2 separate regions of the Homo sapiens genome follow, and region 1 is linked to region 2. Evidence: promoter capture Hi-C in 16 types of primary human blood cells and fetal thymus (Javierre and others, 2016). All regions are on one chromosome and are shown on one strand. Each heading gives the region's core, a stretch centred on a gene start or on the middle of the fragment in contact. The rest is flanking DNA. Distances are from core to core; before and after follow the strand shown.

Region 1 (4,731 bases), core at 814-3,313, 520 kb after region 2:
ACGTGTGCTCAGAAAAAAATCTGAAAAGACCCTAAGCTTTTATCTCTGGATGACCCCTAGGCTCAGCACAAACAGTTAAAGAAGGCTAAGGCAGAGTTCTAAATTGCCTGGCTAAGCATTAAATCAGTGTCCCAACACAGAGCCAATCTCCAAAGACTGGGAAAGTTTCTTTCTCTTCTTTCCTCTCTCTCTTCCTGCTTTTTCTTTCTTTATCCCAGGTGGACACGGTAAATACCCTAGCTGACCAAGCTAAAGGAACAGAGACTTCAGAGACTACACATGACAAAGAATTAGACTTTACAAAAATTATTAGAAATGTCACTAAGCAAACAACTCTACCCAAAGTAAGCAGCAAAAACAAACCCTGGAGAGGGAAGAAAAATCATATTTCTAGAGTTGCCACATTATAATATTCCAAGATGTTTGGTTTTCAACAAAAAAATAAGAAGCATGCAAATAAAAGAGGTATAGCACATGCATAGGGGAAACTACAGAAACTGTTCCTGAGAAATCACTGACATTGAATGACTTACTAGACAAAGATTTTAAGTCAACTGTTTTAAATATGCTCAAGGAGTTAAAAGAAACCAGAAGAACTATGTCTCACCAAATAGGAAATATTGACAAAGAATTATAAGTTATAGAAAGAAACACAGCAAGAATTTTGGGGCTGAGAATGATAATAAATGAAGTAAAAAATCCACTAGAGGATTTCAATAGCAGATGTGAGCAGGCAGAAGAAAGAATCAGCAAATTTGAAGGTAGGTTAATTAAAATTATTAAGAAAGAGTAGCACAAAGAAAAGAGAATGAAGATAATAAACAGAGCCTAAGAGACCCTTGGGGCACCATCCAACATATACTCAAAATGGGACTCTCAAAAGAAGAGAGAATGGGGAAATAATATTTGAAGAAATAATGACTGAAAACTTCCCAAATTTGATAGAAGACACAAAACTACATATCTAAGAAGGTCATTGAACTCCAGGATGGATAAATGCAAAGAGGTCCACACTGAGCTATGTTATGATCAAACTGTCAAAAGTTAAAAATAAAGAAAATCTGAAAGCAGCAATAGGAAAGTGACTGTCACATACCAGGTACCCTCAATGACATTGACAGCCAATTTTTAGCAGAAACTGGAAGTCAGAAGGCAGTGGGATGACATAGTAAAAGTGCTGAAGGAAAAAATATCTGTTACTCAAGAATTCCATATTCAGCAATATTCTTTTTCAACAATGGAGGGAAAGTTAGGAGAGCCTCAGATAAACAAAAGTGATGGGAGTTCGTCACTAGCAAACATGTAACACATGAAATGATAAAGAGAGTCCTTCAGGCAAAAGCAAAGACACAAGAAAGTAACTTGAAATCATATGAGAAAGAAAGAACCCTGGCAAAGGTAGCAACATATGTAAATACTAAAGCCAGTATTGTGGAATTTTTCATTTGTAACTCTTTCCATTTGTAAATGATTTAAAAGACAAATACATAAAAATTGTAAATCTATGTTAATTGGAGCACAATGAATAAAGATGTCATTTGTGACAACATAAAGGGGCAAGGGTAGCCTGTATAGAAGCAGGGATTTTGTATATTATTGAGCCTAAATTGAATTAATTAAAAATAGATTGTTATAAGTTTAAGAGGTTAATTATAATCCCCAGGTATCACTAAGAAAATAACTAGAATTTTATTGTCTTAGCTCAGCTGCTATAACAAAATACCATAAGCTGGGTGGCCCACAAACAACAGAAACTTATTTTTCACAGTTCTGGAGGCTGGTAGTTAAAATCATGGAACTAGCATGGTCAAGTTCTTGTGAGGGCCCTCTTCTGGTAGACTGCTAACTTCTTGTTGTATTCTCACATGGCAGAAAGAGCAAGCTAACTCTCTGGCTTATTCTTATATGGGCACTAATCACACTGTTTGGGCTTTACCCTCATCACATAATTACCTCTCAAAGGCCCTAATACTACCACATTGGGGTTAAATTTAAACATATTAATTTTGCAGAAACATGAACATTCAGCCAATAACAACATCTATGAGAAACCCAGAGCCAACATCATACTTCATGGTAGGAGACTGATGCTTTGCTCCTAAGATCAGGAACAAGACATGGATGTCACTCTCACCACTTCTACTTAATGTTTTCCTAGAGGATCTAGCCAGGGAAATTAGGCAAAAACAAAAATAGAAGACATTCAAAATAGAAAGGGAGAAATAAAGCTCTCTCTGTTTACAGATGACAATATCTTATATATAAAAAAATCCCAAAGAATCCACTAAAAATCCATTAGAATAAATGAATTAAGCATGATTACAAAATTTAAAAAATCGGTTGTATTTCTGTACACTGGAAATAAATAATCTGAAAATAAAATTAAGAGAAATATTTTGTTTACAACATTGAAAATAATAAAATTCTTTGTGATAAACTAAACAAGAAATGCAAAAACATGTACCCTGAAACCTGTAAAATATTGTGCAAGAAATTAAAGAAGACCTACATAAGTGGATAAACATTCCATGTTCATGAATCTGAAGATTTAACATTAAGATGGCAATAATTCCCAAATTGTTCTAACAGATTCAATGCAATCACTGTAAGAATCCTGAATTACTTATTTGTAGAAATTGACAAGCTAATTCTAAAACTTATATGGAATTCCAAGTGATCCATAACCTTGGGGGAAAAAAAGAACAAAGTGGAGGACTCATACTTTTTTTTATTTCAATAGTTACTATAAAGCAACAGTAAGCAAGGTTGTATACTGGCATTAGGATAGACGTATAGCTGAATGAAATCGAATTTAGAGTCCATACATACACCCATACATTTATGGTTGAGTGATTTTCATCAAGGGTCCTAAGACCATTAGAAGGAGAAAGAAATCTTTTCAACTAATAGTGCTGGGACAATTGGAATGTCACATGCAAAAGAATGAGGTTGGACCCCTACCTTATACCATATGCAATAATTAACTCTACATGGACCAGATTCCTAAATGTAAGAGCTAAACTGTAAAATTCTTATGATAAAACGTAGCGGTAAATCTTCCTGACCTTGAATTTGGCAAAATATTCTTGGATATGACACTAAAAGCATGAGCAATGAGAGAAGAAATAAGCTAGACCTAATTGCAATTAAAAACTTTTTGCTTCAAAGGACACCATCAAAAAAGTGAAAAGACAACAGAATGGAAGTAAATATTTGCAATCTGATAATCTATACCTAAAAAAATTTAAAAATTTTGTCAATTAATAATAAAAAGACAATCAAGTTAAAATACAATCAAATTATTTGAATAGAAATATCTGCAAGAAAGACCACAAATGGTCAATAAACAAAGGACACTCAACATCATTCGTCATCAGGTAAATACAAATAAGACCACAATGAGGTACCACTTTACACCCCCTTGATGGTTGTAATCAGAAAGTCAGATAAAAACAAATGTTGCTGAAGAGTTGAAGAAATTGGAACCTCATATACTGTCGAGTATGTACAATGGTGCAGCCACTTTGGAAAACAATCTGGCAGTTCATCAAATGATTAAAGACAGACTTTCTATATGATCCAGAAATTCCAATCCTAGGTGTGTACCCAAGAAGAGTAAAAACATATGTGCACATAGAAACTTGTATACAAATACTTATAGCAGCATTATTCATAATTTCCAAAAGGCAGAAGGAACCCAAAATGAATGAACAAAATATTCTTTAGTCATAAAAATAATAAAGAACTGATACATGTTACAACATGAATAAACCTTGAAAACATTATATTAAGTGAAAGAAGTCAGTCACAAAAGAGCACATATTATATGAATCCATTTATATGAAAGTTTTAAATAGTGAAACCTATAGAGTTGGAACATAGTAGTTGCTTAGGCTTGGGTGTGGAGCAGGGGAACACAGGATGAAAGTAGGATGATAGCTAAAGGGGATAGAGTTTCTTTCTTGAGGTCATAAAAATGTTATAAATTTGACTCTGGTGATAATTAAACATATCTGTAAAATGTACTTAAAACCATTGAGTTGTACAGTTTAAATGGGAAAACTGTACAGTGTATGAATTATATCTCAATAAAGCTTTAAAAAAAGAAGAAATAGAAAATATAAATAGACCTATAATTGAAAATGAGATTGAACCAGTAGTCAAAAATCTCATAACAAAGAAAAGTCTTGAACCAGATGGCCTGCCTTGTGAATTGTATGACTCGTTTTAAGAAGAATTGACACAAATCTTTGTCGAATTCTTCCAAAGAATAGAAAAGGAAAAACTTCCTAACTCATTCCATGAGCTCAGCATTACCCTAATGCCAAAGCCAAAGGTACACGGGAAAACTATAGATTGATATCCTTTACAAATGCAAATGTAAGAATGCTCAAAAATACTAGCAAACAACATTTTAAAATGATTATACGCCATGATCAAATGGTGTGCAAGAGTAGTTCAATATATAAAGGTCAATAAATTCCATATATTATGTCAAAAGAATAATTTTAAAAATCACATGACTATTTCAATAGATGCATAAAAAGCATCAGACAAAATCTAACAGCCTTTTAAGATTAAAAACGCTTAGCAAACTATAACTAGAAGGGAAGTTCCTCAATCTGTCAATGGACACTAAAATGAAAAGCAAAAAACAACAACAACAAAAACCCCACAGTTAACATTATACTCAATGGTAGGAAAATAAATAAAAGGCATCTAAATAGGAAA
Region 2 (4,539 bases), core at 485-2,984:
ATACGAAATATTTTCTGGCCTTCAAATCATATGCCTAACTCCTGCAGGAAAACTGCATGGGCACTCAGGCTGATCTCCCTTACCCCACAACTTAGATCCACCTCTCACGTTTTCTAAGTTTATTTCCACGCTGTCCCTGGGCCAGGCTCTAGGGTCCCAGAGGTGAAGTGGAGGAATTCACAGTTTGGTTGAGGAGAGACCCCCTTGAATAGATCAAGCTCCCCAAGTGTTGCTGTAAGTTTACATGGAACATGGAGTCTGAGTGGGAAGTCAGGGAGGTGAATCACGGAAGCCTTTGGACTTTGTACACCTGTGGGCAGCTCCCAGATGAAGGGGGGAAGGTGTTGCAGGCAAATGACCACCTTTGACGGGCGGACATCGGCCTGCTTTGCCACTTCACCTTATGCTGCCCTGTGACTGGTCTTTGCACTGTGTCACCGATATGTCTTTTTTTTTTTTTTTTGAGACGGAATCTCACTCTGTCACCCAGGCTGGAGTGTAGTGGCACCATCTCGGCTCACTGCAACCTCCACCTCCGGGGTTCAAGCTATTCTCCTGCCTCAGCCTCTTGAGTAGCTGGGACTACGGGTGCGCGCCACCACACCCGGCTAATTTTTGTATTTTTAGTAGAGACGAGGTTTTGCCATGTTGGTCAGGCTGGTCTCGAACTCCTGCCCTCAAGTGATCTGCCCGCCTTGGCTTCCCAAAGTGTTGGGATTACAGGCATGAGACACCGAGCCCGGCCAACCACTAATATGTATCGTGAGTCAGCTCTGCTGTCTCTGAAAGTCCAACCTCCTACTTTTTGTTTTTTGTTGTTAAGACAGGGTCTTTTTTTTGTTTTTTAAAGACAGGCTGGAGTGCAGTGGCGCGATCTGGGCTCACTGCAACCTCCGCCTCCCGGGTTCAAGCGATCCTCCCACCTCAGCTCCAGAGTAGCTGGAAATACAGGCACGCGCCACTATGCCTGGCTAGTTTTTGTTTTTTACGTAGAGATGGAGTCTTACTATGGTGCCCAGACTGGTCTTGAACTCCTGGGCTCAAGCGATCCTCCCAAAGCCCTGAGATTACAGGCGTGAGCCAGCGCGCCGGACACAACCTCCTACTTTCATGAAAGAGTGGGCACTTCCAACAGGAGGAGTAAGTGGATGAGCGGTGTGTGACACACCCGCCTCAGCGTCGCCCGGAGTCCGCAAGGCTGCGGCTCACCGTTCTCTGCCCCATAGCTGGCATTGTGGAGTGAAAGGGAACGTGGGTGGAGGATTGAGGTTGGAAATTCTGAATCTGTACATACAGCTTGAAGGGGCTCATCGAATGTGTCGGTCCTTTAGATTCCCCCTGCCCATGGAGGTTAAAAAAAAAAAAAAAACCTATCAAAAGAGCTATTCAAAACCAGGCTGAAGATTGGAAGGAAGTTGGCCAGCCTCGGCTGCAGGACAGGTGCTTCCAGGCTCCATTAGGGGTGTCCAGCGCCTTCTTTTGCCCTAGGCAGCGCCCTGAAGAACGCGTCGGGGCCTCGGTTCGCGGACTTGAGGAGTGGACCGACCGAGCGCTGTGCGTAAAAGGACCGCTGGGGCACACGCCCGAGCGCCACCGGAGCTAGGAGACCGCGGCCCGGAGGTCGGCGAGTCGGGGGCAGGCCCGGAGCTCCTCCCACGGGGGGCGGGGCGGGTCACATGGCGGTGGCGCGGTAGCGCGCGATGCAGCACAGGCTAGAGGCTGCGCAAGCGCGGGGCCCGCCCCTGGGACCCTCCGGGCCGGGCGGTTTGGCCCCTTAGCGCCCGGGCGTCGGGGCGGTAAAAGGCCGGCAGAAGGGAGGCACTTGAGGTAGGTGCTGCGCGCCGGGGCTCCGCGAGGCACGTGATGTCCGTAGGCGGGGCCTGCCGCGGCGTAGGTGGGGAAACTGAGGCAGTGCAGGGCCGGTAGGGTGGGTGCTGGGCTGGTGAGGCGCGCCCCTCGGGCCCGCGCCAACTTTCTTAGGAGCCGCCGCAGCGCTGGCGCTCCCTCCGAGGACGACGACCCTTCCGCCACCCTGCGTGGCGGCCGATGGAAAAACCCTGCGCCCAGACGTCGGAGAACGGAGACGGGGACCCGGCGCTGCTGCGGCGGGCTAGGGCCCCCTCTGTCCACGCCCGCAAGCCTTGAGTGACGCCGGTGGCGCCAACCTTCGCGAATTGTTGGGACAAAGAACAGAGGAGAGGGCCCTGCCCTGGAGCATGGGCCCGGGGGCCGCCCTGCTGGACCAGCCCCAGGTGCGGACCTGGCAGTCCTCGTCCTCGTCTCTGTGCCCGCTTAGGGTCGTGTCTTTTAAGAGGGCACGGTTTCTAGCGTTGTTCAGCGTTTCGGAGGCACCTGTTCCCCCTCTTTCCCAAGAGTCACAAACGCCTGACTTTAAATTGGGTAGAGCCCAGTTGTAAACTTAACAGCCCTGCTGAGGTCTAGGAATGAAAAGATGAACAATCTGCCCCCAGGGTTGTTGCTGGAGCGGGAGGTGAAGGCGCAGGTGGAGATGGTTAGAGGCAAAGGAAGGGAAGTCAAGGCCCAGCCGGTCCAGGGCTGTGGGAAGGAGGCACACCCGGGAGTCCACTGCCGGACCGGGGTTCCCAGCTGCTCCTGCGCCTCTTTTCCTTGCCACATCATGCTGTCTGCACAGCCCAGCAACCCAGAACTCAGCTTTTTTGTTTGTTTTATTTTAATGTATTTTCCTTTGAACCTGGCAGGTGGTTTTTCAAAAAGAAAATAATCAAGATTTGTTTTGAAAAGCATTGTGAAAAAGTCAGCTTGAATAGTCTTGAATGCTCCTGCTCGGGCCCAGCTTTGGAGAATGAGGATTGGGATTTCCACTGCAGACCCCGACTCGTTACCATACTCATTCATCAGAAAACTCTTCATTTTGTGTACAAATAACGTTTTGAGGGTAATCATTGCTCTAGAAATGAAGAATTATACATCGTATTTATTGCACTTTTTGTAAGGTACCTCACAAGGCACCTCCTATACATTTAATCCTTTGATTCTTGCAACTCTGTAGAAGGTAATTAAGGAAGCATTCCCATTTTACTGATGCAAAACAGTTCCTTGTCCAGGTTTATACAGCTTGCAAGAATTAAAGTTAGATATTATTCTTGGTGTGGGCCTTTCCTATATCCCCGTCTTTTATAAGAGCATGTCATTTAGTTGAGACCTTCTGCATTACTTCTGAAGGGGTACAAAAGACATTTCTGATGATTTTCTCATCTCGTGTCATTTAAATGGTGCTCAGAAAGTTTGGATAGGACTGGAACTCTAGGGCTCAAGCCCCAGGCTCTGTCCCTATCTAAGCAATAGGGCAGCTGTCCTGCCAGTTGGGTTCTTGCTTCTTTGTGAAATGTTGAGCAGAAGCTCCAAGTCTCTCTGCTGTGGCTTGTGTGGCAAGAACCATCCTGAGGTTCTGTGCAGAGAGCCAGCCTCACCTTTGAGCTCAGTGGCCTCTGGCACAGGGAAATTACAGCTGGGCAGTGTCCTTTGCCTTCTCTGGCACTGCTAGTGCAGGAGGCAGTGTTAGCTGCTACAGGAATAGCATGGAGCGGGCCTGCAGGCCAGAGGGGCTGAGACAAGCCAGTGTTCCCACCAGACCTAGAACGTTCACCAGAAAGCAGGCCTGCAGTGACACAGCTGCAGAAGTTCACTATTTTGTGCCTGTCCTGCTTCAGATATCCTGTCTTTATAGGGGCACGAGTGAATCTGAGCCCTGCAAAAGAGAGAAAGATAATGCTGCTTTGCCGTTTTCTAGTGCGTTACCGCATTAAAAATTGCTCTTCTTATATAATCTTTATGACAACTCTTTAAAGTGCCCTTGTTTTTAAGAAGACACTGAGGTTCAGAGGGATAAAATAACTCTCAGAGTCAAAGAGAGAAAACCCAGGATTATTGGCTTTTAGCCCAGTGTCTTCTGTGGTATTGCCTTGCCTTCCTATCCACACCCATATAACTTGATGAAGCCGGAGTTCTGAGCCCAGACAGGAGGCTGTGCAAGTGAGATTAGAATGGCTTGCTCTTTGAGGGGTGGGGGGCCCTACAGCTTGAGGAAACAAGAGGACATAATCAGCTACTGGGAAACCCTGAGATACGCCCAAGAGTGAGGAATGTGGGGGCTGGTGCTGCTTTCAGCATCTATTCAGAGGTTTCTGAATCTGGCATTTGAGAGTAGGACTGGGCCAGAACCAGGCAGATACACACCCCAAGGAGCAGGGCTGAGAGTTGGAGACTGAGGCAGGTAGGTGAGAGCTCATTGCAAGTGACTGATTTTGTGGTATATGAAGACAAGGGTGGGTGGAAGGGCATCTGTTGCTCATAAGGCTCTGTGTGCCTGCATCATCAGTATGCTAGACAAGGATGGACAGAGTCTTGTTATTGTGGGGAAGAGAGGTGCAGAATGGCTTCTCAGCGGAGACTAGGCAATGAGACCCTTAAGACATTTGGCTTCAGATTATAAGCTGCTTACCAAGGATTGGGCTTGGGAGAGGCTGATGATGTTCTCTCCAGGCAGCAGATTTCCCA

What was found. The method cuts DNA at HindIII sites, captures the fragments that hold promoters and counts their contacts. A CHiCAGO score of 5 or more calls a contact.
Region 1: a contact is called between a fragment that was not itself captured here and the fragment with the promoter of PRXL2A in region 2, in 1 of 17 cell types (M2 macrophages). The highest score is 7.4, in M2 macrophages.

What each region holds. Positions count from the first base shown.
Region 1 is chr10:80,927,785-80,932,515 of GRCh38, forward strand. No RefSeq gene overlaps it. Among named protein-coding and RNA genes, the nearest start is that of LINC02655, 280 kb to the left of the region's middle. The HindIII fragment of the contact is 4,058 bases long and covers 35-4,092 here.
Region 2 is chr10:80,406,817-80,411,355 of GRCh38, forward strand. It overlaps PRXL2A (peroxiredoxin like 2A), which reads left to right and starts at 1,735. Exons shown (of 6, transcript NM_032333.5): 1 at 1,735-1,827. RefSeq lists a silencer at 1,514-1,803 and enhancers at 2,089-2,682, 3,529-4,028. The HindIII fragment of the contact is 7,614 bases long and covers 1-4,539 here.